Linked DNA regions of Homo sapiens: regions 2 and 3 are each linked to region 1. Evidence: promoter capture Hi-C in human tissues and cell types (Jung and others, 2019). All regions are on one chromosome and are shown on one strand. Each heading gives the region's core, a stretch centred on a gene start or on the middle of the fragment in contact. The rest is flanking DNA. Distances are from core to core; before and after follow the strand shown.

What was found. The method cuts DNA at HindIII sites, captures the fragments that hold promoters and counts their contacts. A contact is called where the count stands out against the background at its distance.
Region 2: a contact is called between a fragment that was not itself captured here and the fragment with the promoter of DOLPP1 in region 1, in 1 of the 25 tissues and cell types used here (hippocampus).
Region 3: a contact is called between a fragment that was not itself captured here and the fragment with the promoter of DOLPP1 in region 1, in 4 of the 25 tissues and cell types used here (IMR-90 fibroblasts, dorsolateral prefrontal cortex, lymphoblastoid cells and 1 more).

Annotation. Positions count from the first base shown.
Region 1 is chr9:129,079,361-129,083,056 of GRCh38, forward strand. DOLPP1 (dolichyldiphosphatase 1) reads left to right here and starts at 1,751. Exons shown (of 8, transcript NM_020438.5): 1 at 1,751-1,847. The coding sequence starts at 1,772. RefSeq lists a silencer at 1,449-2,178. The HindIII fragment of the contact is 10,069 bases long and covers 1-3,696 here.
Region 2 is chr9:129,456,217-129,460,162 of GRCh38, forward strand. No RefSeq gene overlaps it. Among named protein-coding and RNA genes, the nearest start is that of LINC00963, 30 kb to the right of the region's middle. RefSeq lists enhancers at 2,470-2,519, 2,896-3,417, 3,418-3,938. The HindIII fragment of the contact is 4,259 bases long and covers 1-3,608 here.
Region 3 is chr9:129,543,565-129,547,317 of GRCh38, forward strand. No RefSeq gene overlaps it. Among named protein-coding and RNA genes, the nearest start is that of LINC00963, 57 kb to the left of the region's middle. The HindIII fragment of the contact is 4,849 bases long and covers 74-3,753 here.

The sequences.
Region 1 (3,696 bases), core at 501-3,000:
TGTGACCCAGGAATCTGTGTTTTCTACAGGCTGATCTCAGCACTCCATGAATCTGAGAGCCGCTGCTGACTGGGAGGGATAGGGAGCCGATTACAGTCCAGTGAGGTCAGGGCTGAGAAAGGACAGGAAATGCAACCGTGAGAGCCCAGTACTGGCCCCTCACTTGACTGTGGAAACCTGTAAGCCGAGGAGACACCTGAACCAGATTGGGCCGGGCAAAGTAGGGCAGGAGAGGCAGTACATCCCACGCAGCAAAACAGCACATGGTGGCCAGGGGCGGTGGCTCACACCTGTAATCCCAGCACTTTGGGAGGCCGAGGTGGGCGGATCACGAGGTCAGGAGATCAAGACCATCCTGACCAACACGGTGAAACCCCGTCTCTACGAAAAGTACGAAAATTAGCCGGGCGTGCCACTGCACTCCAGCCTGGGCAACAGAGCGAGACTCCGTCTCAAAAAAAAAAAAAAAAAATTAGCTGGGCATGGCGGCTCACGCTTGTAATCTCAGCATTTTGGGAGCCGAGGCAGGTGGATCACCTGAGGCCAGGAGTTCGAGACCAGCCTGCCCAACATGGTAAGACCCGGTCTCTACTAAAAATGCAAAAATTAGCCGGATGCGGTGGTGCGCGCCTGTAGTCACAGCTACTCGGGAGGCTGAGACAGGAGAATCACTTGGACCCAGGAGGCTGAGCAAGATCGTTCCACTGCACTCCAGCCTGGGCCTCAGAGCAAGACCCTGTCTCAAAAAACAAACAAACAGACAAAAACAGCACATGCTAGCGGCAGGAGACAAGAGGCTGAGCCCTCCCAGCCCACCTTACCTGCACTGTAATCCAATCCAGCCAGAGACAGAGTCGGGTAGGAGAGGTGAAGGCGGGTGGGAAGGTGTGGCTGTTCACGCAGGAATGTCTTGGGAAAACTGAGGGGTAGGTGGAAAACCGACTTCTTGTTTGAAATGCTCCCAAGACGCCTCATTAAGTAGCATAGACGTGACTGAATCAATAAATCTTTATTAAATGAATGAAAGGAGGAAGGAGTCCTTAACTGTAGCTAAGCTTCCACTCTTAAGTATCAATTAAGCTTCTCTGTTCAGTCCAGCGTTTAGGGCGCCTACTGCGCGCCCCGCCCCACACACTTTTGACAAAAAGGTCGCCTGCTCTGTGTGACTTGCCCTTTCGCCGGCCAGTATGGGGCAGAGGGAAATAAGCCCCCTCTGCTCTCTGGTCTCAGTTTACTCGTAACTGAAAGTGGGTCGGTTCAAACCCCCTGGAGCTGAGGTTGCCTCTCCTCTTCGAGCACGCGCTATCGGACGCGCAGGTCCCCAAGACCGCGGATCGGCAGGGGGTACCAGGGAAGCCTTCATTCAGGGCGCAGGTCCCAGCCGAACCAAAGCTCCCACCAAAGTTCAACACGCCCCCAAAGCCAGCGCCTGATTGGCCCGCCCTGCCCACAAGCTGAGGCAGCCTCACCTTCTGATTGGCTGTTATGCTCCCTGTTCGGTGCTGGAACCCTCCCCTTCTCTGATTGGCCAGATGCCTACCTGCGCTCGCCCCAGATTGGGCGCCAGCTGGGGCGGCTCGTTGGCTCCCAGGGGCCCCGCTCTCTGATTCGCCGCTCGGGCCAGCCCCCACGGCCTGCACGCTGAATGGCTGCGCCGCTACCTATATTGGCCTCCGATTGGGTGCACGGCGCCTCCCCGGCGTGATAGGTCAGGACCACCGCCCCCCTGGCTCCCCATTGGCTGCTCGAAGAAGCCCGGTCTCCGGGTAAGATGGCAGCGGACGGACAGTGCTCGCTCCCCGCTTCATGGCGGCCGGTGACCCTCACCCACGTCGAATATCCTGCAGGTAAAAGGCGGTCCCGGCTCCAAGGACGCCTTCCCAGGGACGGCCTCTCAGTCCCGGGCGCTCCGGCCTGCTCGAGCCCGCGGAGGGGGCGCCGGGGGACCGGGGTGGGAACTGTCAAATAGTGAACCACGGAGGGGCTCGGCCGGCGCGCGCGCCGCGCAGGCGCAGTGGTGCGAGGATGAGCTGGGCGAAATTGTGAGGCGCTCGCTCGCGCACTCTGCGGCTGCGCGGCCAGGGCGCTCCCCCGGGTCCCGGGGCGCCGGTGGGCTGAAATGGGTTGAGGATCTGTGTGAGGCGAGAAAAGATCCCTGGCCTGGACCTTGGCCCTTCTTCCCCGCCCTCCCCTGTCCCAGAGAGGCCGCACTCCTGTTCCAGCGTGCAGGGAGTGTCTTGTTTCCTTCGAACAGTGCTTTGGGCTGCTTGTAAGAGAAAGAGCTCCCCGTTGCTGGGAGTGTGCAAGCCGAAGCCAGGCTTTTGAGTACTTGTGGTGCCACGCCCTGAGCAGGGCACGATTCCACAACAGAGAGGACCCGATGAGGGGGCGGGCAGCCTCCGGGAACTTGACTTCTGTTGCTTCCCATCAGACACACCTCTCGAAGTGCAGGGCTTTCCAGTTGAGAGGTCCATTAGCGGCGTTCTGGAGGCTGTCTAGTAAGAGTGGCGCAGAGCCTGGGCGTGGGGGTCAGACCCATCTGGGCTCCAGTTGAGGCTGAGGCCTTGTGCAGGTGCCTGCCTCTGCTTAAGTTAATTCATCTCTAAAGTGGGACTGATTACAGTGCTTACCTTCTGGTGATGGTATGAGCATCAAATAGCAGGAGGCACAAGAAGGGCTGAGTACAGTGCCCGGCATGCAGTAAGCGTTCAGTAAATACCTGCAGTTAATGTTATCCCACCTTGCAAGACCCTCCCTGGGTAAGATGGTTGAGTGCCAGGGAAGGCTGGAGCCCCTCATTGAGCCCTGGTTGCCTGGGAAGGGCCTGCTCATGCTGCTGTCTTGCGAGATGTGAGAACCTGGGTCCGCTGAGGGCACCAGGACTGAATGCCAAAGAACGTTGACGCTGGTGTTCTGGGTTGTACTGGGGGTGGTATGGCCCTGCCAGGTCCTGGGCCCTGCCTGCCTGCCTGTCTACCATTCATTCATCCATTCATTCATTCAGTCAATATCCACTGAACACTTCTGAGTGCTAGGCCCTGGGCTAGCTCTGGTTTTTAGAATGCTTAACAGGCCTGAAATATCCCTGCATTCCTGCACTATGAAAACCAGCTGCTTTATAAGAGGAAAGCCAAAGCCTGGAGGTGGGGAAAGACTTGCTAAGGCCTCTGCACCTTCACAGCTTCCCCTCCTGGCCTCAGAGTAGCTTCTTGGAGTGCTCACAATCCAACAAGCCAGAAGGAACCTGGCAGGCAGTTGTGTGCAGCATGATACAGGCTGTGATGGACCTGGCTGAGCCTGGAGCATCTGGTGAGGTCTAGTCCCCTATTAATGCTTCCATGGTTCCCTGCACTTCTCCGTCACACCCCTCTTCACACCGTCACTTGCTTACTTCATTCATTCAACAGTTTTTGAGCCCAGTTAAGAGCCAGGCCCTGTGCTGGGCTTGGGGGATAGAGTGGGATATAAAGAGACCCTGTCTCTACTCCCAGATGCTGTCCTGATATCTACATTAGTGGATCATGAACTGAGTCTGGATGGCAGATTCTCCCGTCAGACCTCAAGCTCTGCACTAGCAGGGACATATGTGTCTTTTTTTTTGCCACTGTGGTGGGTTCTTAGTTGTTTGTTGAGTTCACCCAGAGAGCGTCCCAGGTGGGGGGAAACTGTGTGCAAAGGTCCAGAAGTAGGACAGGG
Region 2 (3,946 bases), core at 229-2,728, 380 kb after region 1:
GGTCCCAGGACTGGCTCAGGTGCCCATGGCATGCTCCCCTGTGCCCTGATAATCGATGTCCTTTTGCAGGGTGGTGAGGCTCTGAGAGTGAGCTAGTGGCTTGTTCTTTTTCCACATTTTTGAGGCCTCTATCTTGGGGCTGAAATACCCAGGTGGAGAAGTGAGTGACTCCGGAAAGGAAGGAAAGAAAAGAACCCAGAGTCTAATTCCCACCCAAGTGGAGGTGAGGCGGGAAGAAGGGGGGCTTGACCCTCTTACGTGGGAGTTGCAGCCTTGGTGGGACCTGTCAGAACTGGTGTGCTAAGCCAGGGGTGGGAGTCAGTGACTTCCACAGGGACAGTATCAGCAGTCAGCTCACAGAAGCATATGTTTCAGAACCAAAAGGTGTAGGAGCAAGGCTCAGAATAAAAATAAAATGAATGGATGGTGGGCAGTGGTAGGTGGATGGATGGAAACATGCGTGGATTGAGAATGGGTGAATGGGTGATGGTTGGCTGGATGGATGGATGATGGATGGGTGGGTGAATGGAGGGTGGATGGCTGTATGAGTGGGTGGTGAGTGGATGAGTGTGTGGAAGGGTGAGTGCATAGATAGGTGGATGGATGGGTAGATGGATGGATGGATGAGTAGATGGGTGGATGGATGGATGGACGGATGGATGGATGAGTGGAGGGATATGGGTGGGTGGTGAGTAGATGAATGTGTGGATGGGTGGGTACATAGACAGATGGTTGAATGGATGGATGGTGGATGAATGATGGATGGGTGGGTGGTGTGAGTGGATGCATGTCTGGATGGATGGGTGCATAGATAGGTGAATGGATGGGTGGATATGTGGATGGATGAGTGGATGGATGGATGGATGGATAGATGGGTGAGTGGAGGGTGGATGACTATATGGGTGGGTGGTGAGTGGATGAATGTGTGGATGGGTAGGTATATGAATGGATGGATGGATGGATGAGTAGATGGGTGGATGGATGGATGGATGGGTGAGTGGATGGATGGGTGGATGAATGGATGAGTAGATGGATGGATGGATGAGTGGGAGGGTATATGGATGGACGGATGGATGGATGGATGGATGAGTGGAGGGTGGATGACTATATGGGTGGGTGGTGAGTGGATGAATGTATGGATGAGTGGGTATATGGATGGGTGGATGGATGGATGAGTAGATGGGTGCGTGGATGGATGGATGAGTGGACGGAGGGGTGGATGAATGGATGAGTAGATGGGTGGATGGTTGGATGGATAGATGGATGGATGGATGGATGATGGATGAGTGGATGGATGTGTAGATGGGAAGATGGATTGGTGAGTGAGGTCTTGGATAGTTGGGTGGTGAGTGGATAAGTGAACGGACGGGTGGATAGAAGGGTGGGTGGATGGATGGATCAGCAGATGGATCAGCAGATGAGTGGGTGGAGGGGCAGATACATGGATGGGAGGATGGGCGGATAAATAAGTAGGCAGGTGGAGGTAGCACTGGCATACAGCAAAGAGCACACTGTTTGAGACTCAGAATTCTATTCATAGCAAAATCCGACATGGAAAACATCCACACTCCTGAATCTGGAAAAATCTGGCTGATACAAGTCGGGTTGAGACCATCTCTAAGGTCAAGGAAAAGTGGATTCTGATCCTAGTTCTCATGCTTGGTTCTGTGAGATCTGAGGCAAGTCACCACATCTCCCTAAGCCTCATTTTTTTCTATCTGAAAACGGATATAATAGCAGCATTCACCTTCCAGGATAGCCAGGACATCCTATGATAAAACGCATGTGGGTCTGGCGTGGTGGCTCATGCCTATAATCCCAATACTTTGGGAGGCCATAGCAGGAGGATCACTTGAACCCAAGAGTTTGAGACCAGCCTGGGCAACATAGGAAGACCCTATCTCTACAAAAAATTAAAAACAAAACAAAACAAAACAAAAGTCCCAGCTACTCGGGAGGCTGAGGTGGGAGGGTTGTGTAAACCTGCGAGGTTGAGGCTGCAGTGAGCCGTGATCATGCCACTGCACTCCAGCCTGGGTGACAGAGCCCGACCCTGTTTCAAAACAAAACAAAACAAAAACCACATGTGAGGCCCAGAGCAGGGCTTTGCGGGTGCTCAGGGAGGCAGAGTGGCTCTTGCTATCACCTCGATCCCTTGATCCAAACCACTCCTGCTTGTACAAACAAGTGTCACTTGTCCAAAAGCCTGGGTGCACAAAGGTTTCCCACAAAGGGAAGCTTCCAGAGAGTCAAGAACCCTGGGGAACAGGCAGGCTCACAGCCACGGCTGCTGCCTCCAGTGCGGTCGTTCTGTGGCCTGAGAGCGTCACGTGCTCCTCATCCTGGACCATCAGGGGCTGGCGCACCCATCAACAGCTGGGTGACCCTGGACCAGTGGCTTCACGCCCCTGGTCTTGGTGTCCTCACCTGTGAAACACGGGCCTGAGAGTTACCGAGGAGCTATGCAGTTTGTCTCCATATCACCATCTGGCTTGCCCCTAAGCCCCCTTTCGCCCCCTACCCCCACAGGGGCGAGGTCAGCACCCTCTGCAGCTGGAGCTTTGAATGTGGAAGCCTGGGGGAGGTTCTGGGGCTGACATGGGTGCTGAGCTGGGATGAAAGCACAGAACGCCTGGGGGGAGCCCCTCTCCCTCTCCCAGACTTTGCTCCCAACCCGTCCTGAGCTCCCCTGCTGGAGCCTCGAGGCAGGCCGAACTTTGCAGCCCTGTCTGCCCACGGTCCCTCCTGCTGTGACTCCCTGCAGCCTGCATTTCATAGTCAGTAGTGGGGGTGGGGGATCCTTGCTGTGGGCTGGAGAAGTCATGGGGCCCTCCTCACAGTGGAGCCTTAAGAGATTGCCCCTATAGCCCCTGCCCCCGGGGGACCCCGGATGCTTCGCTGATCCAAGGGGCACCCACAGAGTCCATGGAAGATTAGGCAGCCCCAGTGACGAGGTTGTTGGATCTGTGCCACTCAGACCTGAGCTCGGGAGAGGTGCCCGTGCAGAGGGGGTAGGATGGAGGTGCCCCAGGGGCAGCAACAACAGAAGGTCCCAGCTCCCTCCAGCCCTGGGCTACTTCCTCTCCTTCCCCAACGGCTGCAGACTCTGGTTAAAATGGCACCTCCGCCATCTGTCGTCCCTCCCCCACCCCGTGGGCACGGCTGTGACGGGGGGCTGGCTGGCCTCGTAAACAGGCGGCTGGCGGGTCCCCAGGGCCGGCGGGTGATAGGGCTTGTGCTGGCACCGAGGCCCAGCCAAGAGCTGGAGCCGGAGAGGCCCCAGGGCGGCCGAGCTGGGGGGGGTAGGCAGGATACCAGGTAGCAGGAAGGTTTCCGCGCCTGAGGGGGCCTGGGTGGTGCCCCAGCTACCTGGCCGCTCCGGGACCTGTGGGGCCCCTTCTCCTAAGTATGCCCACCCCATCCCCAGCATCTCCAGTCCCGGCCCTCTCACATTCGCCTCACCGCGCTTCTGCTGCGCTTAGAGAATCTTAAATCAACACTGGGGTGTGAGAAGCTCCATGGAGCCCCCTAACTCCCCCGCCACTGCAGCGTACACCATGCCGTGGGGATCCTTGCTTTACAACCAGGGAAACTGAGGCCAGAGATCAGGGAGGTGGGAAGGCTGGGCGTGGACCAGAACTTTCCTCCACCTGGTTGCCAGCTAGTGGCGGTTGTGGGGTGAGGGGCTGTCCCAGGGGCCAAGCTCGGGGCCCTGACACTGTAAACAAGCCTCCCAGCCTCAGTTTTTCCATCTGGGGAATGGTGGAATCAAGGCGGCTGCGGAGGCGGGAGGGCTGTCCTGTGAGCCAGAGAGCACTGGGGACCTGCCGTTCTCTCACAGTCCCCTCACCTCTCCACGAGGGAGGACTCGGGGGAGCATCCCGGGAGGGGCTAGGGGTGGGCGCCAGGGGTGCCTGGGAGGGAATCTGTCCGGGTCAGTTCCCTG
Region 3 (3,753 bases), core at 1,248-3,747, 460 kb after region 1:
AAATATATAATCTTAAGTGCATTTACTTTAAAACAAGAATGACTAAAACATACATGTGTAAAGCTTTCAACTAACTAAAGAAGCTTCAAACAAACAAAAAACAACAGTGGAAGGGAATAAACAATAAAGATAAGAGCATCAATGAAAAGGAAATCAACAATTACAGAATATTCAATAAAGCCCAAAGCTGTTTCTTTGAAATGACAAAATAGAAGAACATCTAGCAAGATTAATCAAGGAAAAGAAGAGTAAAGGCACAAATATCTAACATTAGGAATTTTAAAAAGTATGAAACTACAGATAGACTGGAAGTTTTAAGAATCATAAATGAAATAGAGAATTTACAGGAAAGCATAAATGATCAAAGTTTATTCAAAAACAAGAGAAACCCTGTCGGGTGCGGTGGCTCACGCCTGTAATCCCAACACTTTGGGAGGCCGAGGCGGGTGGATCACGAGGTCAGGAGATCAAGACCATCCTGGCTAGCACAGTGAAAGCCCATCTCTACTAAAAATACAAACAAAAAATTAGCCGGGCGTGGTGGCGGGCGCCTGTAGTCCCAGCTACTCGGGAGGCTGAGGCAGGAGAATGGCGTGAACCCGGGAGGCGGAGCTTGCAGTGAGCTGAGATCGCACCACTGCACTCCAGCCTGGGCGACAAAGTGAGACTCAGCCTCAAAACACACACACACACACACACACACACACAAAAACAAGAGAAACCCTAAATAAATCAATGGCCATTAAAGAAAAGAAATCAGCATTTTAAAAAATCACGCTTTGGCCGGGCGCGATGGCTCATGCCTGTAATCCCAGCACTTTGGGAGGCCAAGGTGGGCAGATCACAAGGTCAGGAGTTCAAGACCAGCCTGACCAACAGGATGAAACACTGTCTCTACTAAAAATACAAAAATTAGCCAGGCGTGGTGGTGCGCACCTGTAATCCCAGCTACTCAGGAGGCTGAGGCAGGAGAATCGCTTGAACCCGGGAGGCAGAGATTGCAGTGAGCTGAGATGGTACCACTGCACTCCAGCCTGGGCAACAGAGCAAGACTCCATCTCAAAAAAAAAACAAAAAAACCAAAAAAAAATGAGCCAGGTGTGGTGGCACGCACCTGTAATCCCAGCTACTCGGGAGGCTGAGGCAGGAGAATTGCTTGAACCTGGGAGGCAGAGGTTGCAGTGAGCCGAGATCATGCCACTGCACTCCAGCCTGAGCAACAGAGACACCGTCTCAAAAATAAATAAATAAAACTTAAAAAAATAAAAAATCACCCCTCCTACTCTCCACCTCCCCAGAGAAACCCCATATGCGGTGGACAGAAATGAGACCGAGATGTTTCTCAGAGGCAGAAGGAAGACAGGAACAGCTAGGGGTCTGGAAGTATTTGAGTCTCATGATCTCATCCTTACTCAGGGCTGCTCCATTCCTGTCCTTATCCCTGTTTTGTTTCACGTGGACTCCTAAGTTCTCCTTTTCCTTAGGCACATTCGGCTTGGTGTCTGTCATCGTATGTAACCTGAATACAAGCAGGGTACTAAATGTCCCAGTCATTTTCAAAAAATGATGGAGTGGCACAGTGTCTCACATGGTCCCAGGGTTCCCCTTTACACAAATACCTTCAAAATTCCACATTGGTGGCCACTGCTAAAAACAAGCTTTCCTTCTCTGTCTGCTTCTGAAACACCTCCCTAGCAGCTGATCCTACGTGCTTCCTTCCTTTGTGCCACATCAGCCCAGTCTTGGGTGGGGGGCTTCTGGTCCCACCTGCTGTTCTGCTCTTGGAGGGCCAGAGAATCCTAGATCTCCATGCCAGCCACGCAGCCCCCATCCTCCCCAGTCCCCTGGGGAAATCTTGGTGAGGAATTTCAGGTAACTCAAGTTTGCCTCCCTGTTGTACTGGAACCCATTCTCTACTTCTCAGAGCTCTTAAGCGGATTCAGTGCAAGGTGTTCAGCCCCGGTCTGACACAGGGCTGGGCCTTAAGAGTTCAGTATATGACGTATCTCCTTCATCCTCCACCCCAATGCCAACACAGAGCCTGGCCAAGCAGCACTTCCTCTAGAGGGAAATTTCCTCTAGTAGAAGGCAGAGAACGGGAGGAGCTCTAGACCACTGGGTAAGAGACTTCGGGGGCTACCGAATGACAGAGTTAAAAGGGACTTCAGGGCTGGGCATGGTGGCTCACGCCTGTAATCCCAGCACTTTGGGAGGCTGAGGCGGGTGGCTCACTTGAGGTCAGGAGTTCAAGACCAGCCTGACCAATATGGTGAAACCCCGTCTCTACTAAAAATACAAAATTTAGCTGGGTGTGGTGGTGTGTGCCCGTAGTTCCAGCTATTCGGGAGACTGAGGCAGGAGAATCGCTTGAACCTGGGAGGCAGAGGTTGCAGTGAGCCGAGATTGTGCCACTGCACTCCAGCCTGGGTGAGAGAGCGAGACTCCATCTCAAAAAAAAAAAAAAGGAAAGGGAAGGACTTCAGGCGTGAGCAACCAGGTTATTGCTCAACCTTGAATTTTTCTTCTGGAAGACTCTGGCATACACAGTCCCTTGTAGTAAGCTCCCAGCATGGAAGAAGGCACCAAGACAGAGACTGGGTAAGAACTGAGGGTCCATTGAAAGTCCTTAGAATCAATGCCCTTGAGCGGACAGACTCCCCAGCAGCCCTGCAGGCATTGTCAGAGGATAACCCGATGTTCTAACCCCTCCTGTCAGGCCACCATCATTCAAGCACAACTACACATGTGGAGGCCCAGCCGGGAAACCAGTAGCTGGTCAAACGCGTTGCAATAAATATATTTTCAGCCAATGATAACTATTTAATTGGGTCCTAATTAATGAATGTTCACAGAGCATTTGTGATGCTTCAGAGAACGGTCCCCTGAAAGACACAAGTGCTATGAGTCTATTAGCAGTGGCATTTTAAGGCACTCAAAATTGTAGGTGTGCTAGATCCCAGAAGATTACATTCACTGAAAGTGAACATTAAAATTAGTGCCCTTGTGTGACCCCACCTTTCTCCACTCCTTCTTTCCTCCTTCCTGCTTCCAGAAACATCACGGGTCTGACAGAGCCATGTGGTGGGAATAAGGCTCTTGTAGACTCACAACATTTGACTCTCAGGCTGAGAACTAGACCTTCTCACCTGGGACTCCACGGGGGCAGGTGTGGGTCTCCTTCATTCATGGCTGCACCCCAGCCCCTAGTGTAGGGCTGGCCTGGCACCAATAAGGGGCCTCATCTCTCAGAAGGATGAATACATGAAATGTTAGCCTCAACTTATCAGAGCGCTGGGCTCCCAGCCTCTCCATAGCAGGATCACAGACTGCTGGGCTCCTAGCACCCTAGACTGAAGGATGTGGAGGGCAGCACCCCTATTCTGCAGATGCAAAACCAAGAAACTTCAGGGCTTCCGCCTCACACTTCTGGTTGTTGGAGCAGGAGAGGAATGGAGAGAAGGAAGGAAAGGGGGCGAAGGAAAAGTCTTCTCTCCTGGTTATCAAGGGACACCCCATGAGCTGGGACAGCAACAGAAGCTCCCTCTCCCCAGAGGGCCCCAGGACCCCTCCACTTTCCCTGCTCTGCCCTCATTCTCCCCTCCACAGGGCCAGGAAAGGCAAGGTAGCTCTGGGAGCTGAGAAGATCCTGAAGGAAGAGTGTGGGCTGTGACCTGCCCCCATGGGCTGCACTCTCCCTCTCCCACGCTGGGGAATTCCACCAGGGCTCAGGGAGTTCTTTCATCCGCCCCTGGG